Linked DNA regions of Homo sapiens: region 1 is linked to region 2. Evidence: promoter capture Hi-C in human tissues and cell types (Jung and others, 2019). All regions are on one chromosome and are shown on one strand. The core of a region is centred on a gene start or on the middle of the fragment in contact, and the rest is flanking DNA. Distances in the headings are between cores, read along the strand shown. Region 1 overlaps ZC3H14 (zinc finger CCCH-type containing 14). Region 2 holds the start of EML5 (EMAP like 5).

The links. Contacts are between HindIII fragments. The study calls those that stand out against the background at their distance.
Region 1: a contact is called between a fragment that was not itself captured here and the fragment with the promoter of EML5 in region 2, in 1 of the 25 tissues and cell types used here (IMR-90 fibroblasts).

What each region holds. Positions count from the first base shown.
Region 1 is chr14:88,594,037-88,599,895 of GRCh38, forward strand. It overlaps ZC3H14 (zinc finger CCCH-type containing 14), which reads left to right. Exons shown (of 17, transcript NM_024824.5): 10 at 2,698-2,772. Among named protein-coding and RNA genes, the nearest start is that of ZC3H14, 34 kb to the left of the region's middle. The HindIII fragment of the contact is 3,300 bases long and covers 819-4,118 here.
Region 2 is chr14:88,788,313-88,794,326 of GRCh38, forward strand. It overlaps EML5 (EMAP like 5), which reads right to left and starts at 4,641. Exons shown (of 44, transcript NM_183387.3): 1 at 3,995-4,641. The coding sequence starts at 4,191. RefSeq lists silencers at 4,152-4,231, 4,422-4,781. The HindIII fragment of the contact is 27,448 bases long and covers 1-6,014 here.

The DNA.
Region 1 (5,859 bases), core at 1,219-3,718, 200 kb before region 2:
ATTACCACATGTATCTTGAAAGAAGTTTGTGTGGATCACGGGTCCAGTTACTTTCTCCGCCCTTTCCCTCCAGAGGATTTGTCACTCTCAATAATGTTATATACTAATTTCAAGGGGAAATACAACTCAAAACAAATCAGAAATCTGAAGCTTAAAAATGTTATGGTTTAGATGATGAAAAGGGAAAAGTACATTTAATTCATATCATATTTAGATGTAAAGCACTTAATGTTATATTGCTTAACCTATAAAGTAGCGCTTCAGTGCTCTCATCATATGAAGTAAATAATAGAAAATTCTTTGTGTGACACATGTCTGTTTTCAGCCAATCAGAAACCAGGATTATTTTGTATGTAATAATAGGGTTTACTGGAAGAGGAGCTATACAGATGGTACTTAGAGGATGTAGGGCCCTACGTATTAGGGCTTCTTAGTTGTAGCGAAGAGCAATTGGTCTGGTACGTTTAGCTTTTTCACATTTAGTTTTGAATTCTGACTCTAGAAATGTACAACCCCATCTTTTGAATTACAGGTTTTAAGATGTTATTTGCTCTTAATACGTCTTAAGGTAACAGCCTTGATCACTGCTTTTACTTTCGATGAAATAACTTAATGAGCTGTGAAGAAAAAATTATCAGATTTTAAGGGAGAGAATTTTATGAAAATGTCTTTGAGGTTCCTGTCACCTTTATGAGAATGTCTTCAAAGTTTCCATCACCACCTCTACCAATTTTTCTTCCACCGGAGCCAGTGGACTTAGGTTCCATAACAAGCTCCTCTTGTTCACTGAATGAGCTAGACAATATTTCCCACCTTTTAAGGAAAATATCAGCTGATATCAATGAAATTAAAGGAATGAAAGCAGCTATTTTGACAGTGGAAGCAAATCTTTTTGATCTAAATGTTAGAGTGTCCAAGAATGAAGCAAAAATTTCATCTTTGGAGGTTAAAATGAATGAATATTCAACAACATATGAATGCAACAGACAGTTTGAAGATCAAGAAGAAGATACTGAATCACAGTCAAGAACTACTGATGTAAAAATAATCGGCTTCCTTAGAAACGTTGAGAAAGGTAAACTCTTAATATATGATATGTTCTAGGTACCCATCCTTTGATCTGTATCTTTCCACGTATGTTGACTGTAGCTCTGATGTGGAGGGAGCAAGTTACAGAGAACTTGAATTTTTCATGGACCTTTAATGACAAATTTGGATTCTGCTTGATTTAGCTTAGCAATCTAGAATTGATCAGAATTCCATCCTCTTTAATGGAGCTCTCTAAAACGATGTTTTGAAAAGACAGATGAACCTAGAGCAATGAAGCAAAACTTGAAATGTGGAAGTGTGGTCTTTCATGTGTCTTGTGAAATTATTTTAAAATGTCTCATTCTTTCATCATGTACTGTTGATGTGAAGGAGACCTGTTGCAGTATTTGGATGGAAAGAGCATTCTTCCTGTAACTTTTCACCTCAGTTTTCCAAGCTTCCCACAGGAATGCAACTTGACCTAAGTGTCATCTTCGTTACAGTTCCTCAGAATGTGTGTTTTTTTATGGTAATAATTCTGGAAGGAATTGACTTTTTTGGGACGCACCAGTAAAATTTCATATAACTTATGTTTTAAAGGAAACTAACTGATACAATTTCAAATCGAGTATAGGTTTTAAAATTTAAAAACACCTTTTAATGAAATGTGGTGCTTGGTGGGAGATGGCCCACTTAACATCTTTGCACTGAGTAAGCAAAGCCTGTCCTTGTGAAGCCACCTGTAATGGATATACCCAAAATCAGCATGTGGGCATCTTAGTAAGATTTCAGTATTTGCAACCCTATCAGTTACATCCCTTTGTACACTGTAGTGCAGTACCTTATAATGAGCAAGTGAGTGCCTGATGTCTGCTAAGCGCTGTGGGGGCTACAGAAAAGTGTGACATTCTCCCATCCTCAAGGAGCTTAACATCAAATCGAGGATGGAAAAAAATCAGTTCTTTGTCCCTATTTTGTGCAGTCAGACTGCTGGGCATATTATTGTTAGGAATAGTGAACCTAATAGGAATTAATGTTAGGAGCCTATTTTAGAAGAAATAAGTAGTTGAACATCTTTTCTTGTGGAAGAGGCAAAGAATTATTATCATGCTTTGCTAACATAGGGTGTGGATTGTAGAGCTGAGTGTCTTATTGTTTTCTTTGCATGCATCGAAGCCCAGAGTTTGTCTTTTAGGAACTCTTGTTTAGATGATGAGAGTGTTTTGTTTTGCTATTTCGATTATCTTCAAAGGTCATGAGTGAGTCGTGATGGTAAGAGCTCAGGTGATGGAGGGAGGTGCTTGCCATGCTTATTGTGCAGTTGGCTGTGATGCGAGCTGCTGGGCCACAAGGTGCCTTTTCCTGGATTTTCCACCCGTTTGCCACCTTTACTTTCCCCGCAGAATTCAAATTCAGGAAAACTGATGTCCTCATAGAGGGAGAACCAGGAGTGTTTTAAATTGGCATTTGTGGTTTAACCCTGAGTACAGCCTTTTTTGTCTTACAGGATATGTCTTTGGTCTATAAATACTATTAAATTGAATTGTTGAAGCTTTAAGTTACTTTTAAGACTTCAAGTTAAGAACCCAGAAGGATTGATTTTTGGGAACCACATGCTGGTATTGTCTGTGTTGTAAGCTTAGTGAAGTTTTAAAATTTATATTCTAGGAACTCAACAGAGGCAATTATTATCCCGACTGCAAATCGACCCAGTAATGGCAGAAACTCTGCAGATGAGTCAAGGTTGGTAATGTTTCAAGTTGTACTGTAATCCAGCCATTTCAGTTGCCATTTCCATTTCTTACACCCCATTTAACGTATCTCGGATCTCTTAGATCCTGCCCTAAGATGTTATATTTAGATCTGTGAAAATATTTTAGGGCCAGGAGATAAGATCTGCATTTCTTTCATGTTATATAGTGTTATAATTTTTTGCCTCATTGGAAAACTTTGTTCCTTTCACACCATTCCAAGTGTGTCCCTAGCACTGTCGGCTGTCACTCTCCTGCTGTCAGGAGTGACCTGCGTTTCTGATTTACCCTCCCACTCTACCCAGCTTTTGTCATTGCCATGAGTGGCTTTTGTATCCTGTTTTTCACCTGGTTAGCCTTATCCTCTTGTACTTCATTTTGGAGTCTTATCACCAGGGCCACACCTGGAACTTGTTGTTCTAGTGTTCTAGAGCCACTCTAGTTTGCCTGTCTCCTTTCCTCTCCCCACAGACACACATGCCAGGGGCTACTCCAGGACTGGAGCTGACGCCTTCATTTTTATTATCTCTGTCCTCAGTGCCCAGCCCCTGCCAGATGCATGTTCAATGTCTTAAAAATGACTGCAGGATAAACACAGGCAACCATGAGAGACCCGGAATCATCTCAGTCCTTCTGTTTCCCCTAAGTCTGTCTTTTGTGGGAAGCTCTGGTCCCTAGACCCCTCTCAGTCAGGACTCCACAGTCAGTCACTCTGTTCCCCGACCCTCCCCCAGCTTTCCAGCTCAGAAAGTGTGCTTTTCCTCCCTAAGGGTCAGCCTCCACCAGAGGCCAGATCCCACTGGGTTGGTGAGCCACTGGCATGTCACCCACTCCTCCAACTTCATTCTCTGCCTCCTGTCTTCTCTCTGTAGAGGTGTTCAGACATTCTCTGCCCGTGATTTTGCTCTCTCATCTCCCAGCAGTCCGTCCTGCTTCCTCCACAGGAGTATTTGAAAAGGTTGACAGCCGAGATCTGTGTGTGGGATCCACTTCATCAGCTCTTGTGCATGTTTTCTCTTCTGCCTCCTTCAGCTTTTCATTGTACCCATGGTGCACGCAGTTTGAAATAGCAAGTAGTTCTGTGAGGCTTATGAATGACTGCAGTCCTTAGCTCCTATCACATTTTTTATTCTAAGATCCCTTTGTTTCTGCATATTCTATTAATTTTCTAAAAACATACTGATTTTGTGTACACAATACTCTTTGTTATTTCTCTGTGGTCTGAAAGGTGGTTTTGACATTTTTCCCCTCCCTGCTTCGTCTTGTTTTCTCTAAGTGGTCTGTTTTGGCTGTCTTTTATGCTGGAGGTTCCCCTCTGATGTCTGGGGATCCTAGGTGGTCTTACATTTAAGAGTGGAGCACTCAGAAGGTCACTGGTATTCTGGGTTCATGAGTTGGGGCATGGGGCACTTTGACTTTCTGTTTGAAACTAGACCCTGTGGTGGAAAGTGATTTGTCCTGCCTGTCTGGTTTGTGGGCACCCTGATGTCACTGCCTTCAAGACTTTCCTCTCAGGCTGGTCAGCTTCTCCAAAACAAAGTTTTTCAAGTAATAGCCTGGTAGTCAGAGTTCTGCGAGCTTAAGTGGGGAAAGAAGGCTGGGGGAGGCACCTCACCATTAATTATTATGTAATGTTTATTTAACCCTCCCCCAACCATTGTCAGTCCAGTACTTCTTTCATCATGGCTGGTGTCTCTTGGTCCAGGGACTCTGTTCTTATCCTCTGAAGAGTCTAAAGCTCCACTTTCTCCAAGGGAGAATGCATGCAGTGGGTAAAGATTTATCAGGAAATCTAATTGCCTTTAAAAATTTTTAACAGTGTACCTTCAGGTGATTTTGTCGTAGCATCTTTCTGGCAGAGACCCTAATGCTTCATCCATAGGCCTCTCCGAAGATTATCTACAGGAAAGCACATCACCAGTCATCCCAGGTGTCTTCAGTGTAGAGGTCGGGATTGGTGTGGCAAGCATCAAAACCAAGAAAACAGTGGCCAGGTGCAGTGGCTCACGCCCATAATCCCAGCACTTGGGGAAGCCAAGGCAGGCAGATCACTTCAGGTCAGGAGTTCCAGACCAGCCTGGCCAACATGGCGAAACCCAATCTCTACTAAAAAATACAAAAATTAGCCAGGCGTGGTGGTGCACATCTGTAATCCCAGCTACTAAGGAGGCTGAGGCAGGAGCCTTGCTTGAACCCAGGAGGCGGAGGTTGCAGTGAGCTGAGCTCGCACCACTGCACTCCAGCCTGGGTGACAGAGCAAGACTGTCTCAAACAAAGAAAACAGATACATGGAATTAGAGTTGAAGAAGAACTAACTGCTTCTTGGACACATCTAATACACCTCTTTTTTGCCTGCCATTTCTTCCATTTCTTCCTAAGGTCCTTTTACTGCCAGTTCCTGAGCCTTTGGAGAATCTTGTGGTCTGAATTGGATTGCTTCATTATTGCCTTAGAATTCAGCTTTTACAGATCCCCTGAGTTCTTAATCATCTGTTTTCCACTTTGAAAATTTCTTTTTACACTTATTTTCTTTGTGAGTTTATGCTTTCAAAACAAAAACAAAACCCTTATTGACATTTCTGTGGGCTTTCAGGAGGGAACAAAAAGTAAATGCATGGGGTCAGCCTGTGGTCTCTACTCAGAAGATGTTACTTACTCCCCCGTCTGTCTGGTCTCCATGTGACCTGGGCTGCTAACGTTCCGCTTGCAGAGAGGTGTGCGGGAGGGACCGGTGCACGCTTTCCTCAACCCTGGAGCATGTTACACTTGGGTTCCCATACTTTCTCCAAGCTTTGACCTTTCGGCTTCCAGTTCACTCTGTCTTTATTCTTCTCATTCCCTTTCATTCTCATGTGTCAGCGCATCTCCTCCATTCCTCCTCAAAAGGTTAGCTTTGCTCTCTCCCACCTTCAGCATTATTTTCATCTCTTCTGTGTTCACCCAACCTATGAACTGGTAGAACTCCTTCGTCTCAGAAAGTGCAGAGTGGTGGGAAGGAGTGAAGCAGCCCCTGGGCCACTGTTGGGACCCACCTTTGACAGTTGTGAGACCTCGGTGAATCATTTAATAACTTGGAGCT
Region 2 (6,014 bases), core at 3,391-5,890:
ACAATAAGACTTGGTCAGTATTTTTTCTTAAGAACACGATTTACCACAAATAAAGAAAATAGCTTCTACACCCTTCATTTTGTCTTTTAAAAAAGCCATACATAGAAGCAATGAACAGTTATTATTTTAACCTGCAACCATATAGTGTGGTATACTTTTCAAAATATTTCAGATGCATCGTCATTTGAGCTCATCACCAACTGGTGAGACCCTTTCACTATGTTAAAAAAAAAAAAAAGTACTCTAAATTCTATACCTACTTAATACATAAACAATGGGCTCTGACTCCCATAAGGAAAGCAGAGTCAAATAACAAAATGCCCCAAGTTAATTATATTCCATCAATGGTCTTCACTGGTATAGATTATTTGTAAACTCTCAATAATATCCTTAAGAACAATCTTGCAAAAATTTGCTTACGGGAAGTACCTAGAATAATAAATTTGAAAAGATATTGCACTCTGGCTGCACACGGTGGCTCACATCTGTAATCCCAACACTTTGGGAGGCGGAAGTGGGAGGATCACTTGAGCCCAGGAGTCCAGCACACCAGCCTGGGCAACATACAGAGACCCCATCTTTACCGAAAAAAAAAAAAAAATAGCCCAGCATCATGGCCCACATCTGTGGTCTCAGCCACTTGGGGAGGCTGAGGTGGGATGATCACCTGAGCCCAAGATTTCAAAGATACAGTGAGCAGTGATTGCACCATTGCACTATAGCCTGTGTGACGCAGAGCAAGGGCCTGTCTCAGTTTAAAAAAAAAAAAAAGCTATCGCATTCTTGTAACAACTGGCAAAAGTTTCAAAATATAGACCAAGGTATAGATGTGCATCTTATGCTAAAACTGGTAGTAGCTTATTTTATAACTTAGTCTTAAATCTAGACTAGAGATTTTTATAGATACAGATTTTATAGATTTATAGATTTTATATTGATAGAATAACTGGAGAATTTTATCAATATAACTTGAGAAAAAGAACAAAAAAGTGACCCCAAAAGCCCTATATTATTTCTGACATTGAAACTAATTGCCATATAAACCAGTTACTAAGATAAATATAACTAAAAGATAAATGACTAGAGAAGTATACACAAGTAGATGGCAAAAAGAAGATGGAGAACTACAAGCAACACTGAGAAAATGATGAAATGTCATGTGGCACCACCACTGGCAATCCCAGGTGATAATAAAATGGTCAAAGAACCAGTAAGCAAATGATAGACTAGTCATGATTCAGCCTTTACTGAGAAAATGATGAAATGTCATGTGGCACCACCACTGGCAATCCCAGGTGATAATAAAATGGTCAAAGAACCAGTAAGCAAATGATAGACTAGTCATGATTCAGCCTTTACTGAGAAAATGATGAAATGTCATGTGGCACCACCACTGGCAATCCCAGGTGATAATAAAATGGTCAAAGAACCAGTAAGCAAATGATAGACTAGTCATGATTCAGCCTTTACCACCAACATTGCACTCACATTTTCAAAACCTGAGGACAATGATCTGCTCATTCTGGAACAGTTCTATCCTCAGACTAAGTAATATTTGACCAATAAGTTTTACATAAGTTTCAGGCAAAGGTGGAAACAAAACAGATGATGAAAACAGCACTGACTTTTTATTACTAAAGCTAAGGTTACAGCAACATTGGTTTTCACTATGCATCACATTTGTGAATATTACATCTTCTGCTGTGGCATAATTTAAAAATTACTAGAGTTGTTTCTATACTCACAAGTCAAACACTGAACTGAAAAAATATTGAGGTTTTAATATTAGCTCAATATATTTCACAAACATGAATGATCTGTCATTACTATTTGAAATAAAATGTCCAGAGCCCTTTCACTGATTCCTAAATTATATTCTCAGTATCATATTAAATTTGTGCCACCAATTTCAAGATGCTGTATGATTCAGATTTTACTCCCTCATTGAAACTTTTCAGGAAACTTATTTTCATTGTTATACATTAAAGATGTGTCATTTGGATAAAATCATAAGCATGTATATTCAACGATGAGAAATTCGAGTATGTTTGTTGTTTTGTATAAGTTGTGCAACTATACCAAAAGAAAGTCAAAGCATTACCTTCCTTACAGTTTACTGAAACACAATTATGAAATTTAAGCGGTGTGACATATAACACAGCTTCTAATTACTGCTAGAAGAACAAGATGTAATTTACCTCACCAAATAAATCATATCTAGTTTCAGAAGACCTTAGTGCTATACTGCTCTCATAACCCCCAAGGAGTAAAAACAATACAAGTGTACCACGAGAAGACCTCAAAATCCTTCACATTTACTCCACCAGCTGAATTCAACCTAACAGACTAAATTATCTGGAGCAGGGCTTCAGTTAAGGCTGCTCCAGCTAGGTAAAGCTACTATGCCTGGTACTTTGGGAGACCTAGCATATGGAAAAGAAGGGAGACTTGAAAGGATTAGGGAAAAAGACAAGACACTGGGGTAAACTCTACTCTTGGGATAACTAAGAAGATAAATAATTACTACGGGTTTACTTTAGTTTTGTTTTTCCATCAGCAATTTGGGCTATTATAATAGGTCTGTAACCCTAATCACCACGATACAGAGTCCCAGCTTGAGAAAAATGAAATGACTTATCAGTTACCTTTTCAAAGTAATACATTAAATACAATCTGAAAAAGCACTCTGGTGTCCAAAAAACAAAAACAAACAAAAAAAACCAACTGAATACAGAGCACCACCTCATTCCTTACTCTGCAATCTCAATTTTGTCTTTTCTTATCTTTACTCCATCTTGCCCTACCTCTGTTTGTCCTAGGCATCCTTTCCCTCTTACATATTATAGATGTACAGAGACGCAAAACAGAAGAACAACTTTATTTGTGGAATTTACATACCAGGGCTTCTTGCCTACAAGACTTCAAACCAAGGTACCGTATTTGAAATGCCCAATTTAAATCCTGTGCAACATACATGAGGGAATAACATTTTGTAACCAAACCCAAATCGTAGAATCTTTGATAAAACCCCAAGAGCACCACACAAACACATTCTCAATTGCTTTTAATATATTTTCCTCTGTAAAGGACAAAAAATGCTGTGCTTGAGGCAATAATCAGTGGCCTAGAATGATTTCTGAAGCTCTTGACTTTACCATAAAAGTTGTACTAAGACACTGATTGAAAATTACATTTCAAATATACCGCTCACTAAAGAAATGTCAACAAGCTCTGGGACCAACTTTGAGTTATTGTCCAAGGAAGACTAAAAATAGCCCCCCAATAGCGATTTAATTTTAAGAAAATACAAAAGTAGCTTATTTAGGAGTATTTTAATGAAGATGAAGAGAACTGGAAATCAGTGAAGTTTTCAGCAGCCTCTTCAGATAAGACCTACCTTAAATTGCCTTCAGGTGTGCACATTTTAACATCCAGTGAATTGCCTGGAGGTTGCCTGGGGTTTCTGCTGATTATAGCAGGCGGTGAAACCTGAACTAATAATTACGGCCAGGAGGTGAGAGCCCTTCAGGACGCCACCCTGGGCGCGCTCCCCGGGAGCAGCCCACCGCTTGCTGTGCTTCCATCAGTCCTTTATTAGGTAAAGGGTTTCCCCCCACCCCGGGTGCTTTAAGAATGCGTTTAATAAGAAATTTCTCACAGGATCTAACGGAATAAAGTGCCACCAAAATAACCTTTTCGCAGTTTTCGTAATTGTGATGGAGTGGGAAAGGGGACAAAGCCGTCAAACCGGGTGCCCGGTGGATCCGCGGACCTGATCTTCCTGCACGGACCCGAGAGAGAGTCCCTAGACGAGGAAGAGGGGAAAGGCATTTGTAGGGTGTTAACTGGTGGACTCGGGACCAGAGAGACAGCTGCGGATTCCCCTCGGGGTGATGCTCCGTGCAGGAGCGGTCACGGCGTCCAGAGGAACCCGCGGGTGCAAACTCCGGGAGCGGCTTGCAGGGTGACGGCGGCGGCCCCCGCTCCCCGGTACCTGATGATGTCGTCGCTGTGGCCCCGGTAGAACTTCTGCCTGTGCTCCCGCGGGCTGTACACCACGCCGACCCCCGCCACGAAGTATACGATCTCCTTGGCCGCAGTGTAGTAGAGGTTGTTGCGGCACTGGTGGCCCCGGTAGCCGTACACCCACTCGAGCCGCAGGTGGCAGCTCGGGGCGCTCCGGGCCGCCATGTCGGGGCGCCCACCCGCCGCTCCCGCTCGGGCCCGCGGCGGCGACGGGAGGCGGCGGCGGCCCGGCAACGAAAGCCCTCCCGCTGGCTGCCGGGACTTCCCGCCAGCCGCGTCCTCTAAGCCGCGCCCGTCAGGTGCATCTCGTTTCGGGGGCCGCCGCCGCCTCAGCCCACAGGCGGGAGGAAAACCCTCGCCTCGCGGAACATGCTGAGGGCCGCGAGCGCCGCCGGCTGTCAAGTGGATGCCCAGAGCCCTTCGCCCGCCTCGGCTCGCCTAGTCTCCTCAGCCCGTAGCGCCTGGGCCGAGAGCGAGGGCCCGCCTCCAGCTCCTCAGCCGCCGCCCGCGCACGCAGCTCCCAGCCCCGGTCACCTGCGGCGCTCGCGCCCCGCCGCGGCTTTGTAGCCACAGCCTGGCGGACCCGCGCCGCGCACCCCGAAACCGAGCGAGCCGAGCCGAGCCGAGCCGAGCGGCGGGCGCGCGGCCTTGCGTGGCCCCGCCCCCTCCCGCGCTCACTCCGCCCCTCCCGGAGCCGAGAAGAGGCTGGAGTTCGCGGGGCCACGGTCTAGTTGCGGAGTCGCTGGGACCGCGTCTCTGCAAGTGCGCGGGCCGGTGAGCCCTCCCTCGTTGAGCTGCTTAAGCCCAGGCGGACCCTCGGCGACCCCGGGCTCCCGCTGCTTTGCGTCCTCAACCGGGAAGCACCTGCCGGTTCCGCACGGTCCCTGCACCCAGCGTAGGCCACGTTTTTGCCTGGGAAAATCCACACCGGGATGCTAAATTCTCTTTTTTACGCTTGATACCTTGTGTGTCTTGCTGCCTTATAGTGCTTTCGGACCCAGACATTGGAATGATGCCGAGCTTCCTAAATGTGCTTTTAAATTATTATTTTTAGAAACAGAGCCTCGCTCTGTCGCCCAGGCTGGAGTGGAGTGGCGCAGTCTCAGCTCACTGTAGCCTCCAACTCCTGGGCTCCAGCGATCCTCCCGCCTCAGTCTCCGGAGTAGTAAGGAGTACAGTTGCGTACCACTATGCCCGGCAAATGTTTTGCTTTGTTTTTAAGTTTATTTTGTAGAGGCGGGGGTCTTGCTGTGTTGCCCAGGCTGGTCTCCACCTCCTGACCTTCAGCAGTTCTTCTGCCTCAGGCCTCCCAAAGCGCTGGGATTACAGGCCCAATCCACTGCTCCTGGTCCTAAGTGTATGTTTTCTTAAGTGACCGCAAAGCTGAAGGTAGACTTTAGATGGTAAACTGACATGTGAGATCTGATTTCCGAATAGCAAAAAAAAAAAAAATTGTACTTCGATTTTTTTAAAAATGACTGGGACATCACCAACAGTTACTCTTAATTAAATAAATTCAATTGTGATCCTGTAGAAAACTCCTGTAATAAAAGTATTGGGAACAATCAATTCCTGACTATGTCATTTCCCCTCCTACTCAGTTGTGTCCTCTTCTCACAGGAATATGAACAAGATTTATCAATACCTCTAAAAATAATTGGAAATCCACAATTTAAAAAGTGTTAAGTTCAGGATGGCCACAAGATTTACAACAAAAAAATACTAATTCAGGATATACCAATATGAACCCTTATTGTCTAAAAATTACTGTTTGATTTCCATAGGAAATACCAAGACAGAAATCTGACAAAAGCTAAAATAAACTACCATCGTTTCAAGAAATATGACTCCAAAAGGGGTTGACTCCTGTGTGGTACAGATATATTGGAATAGATGTTATCCAATGTCTACTTCCTCAAAGATGCCAGTTACTAACTTGAGACAGGATTACCGTTTCGTCTTTGATTATGACTTCTAATCTGCAAGCA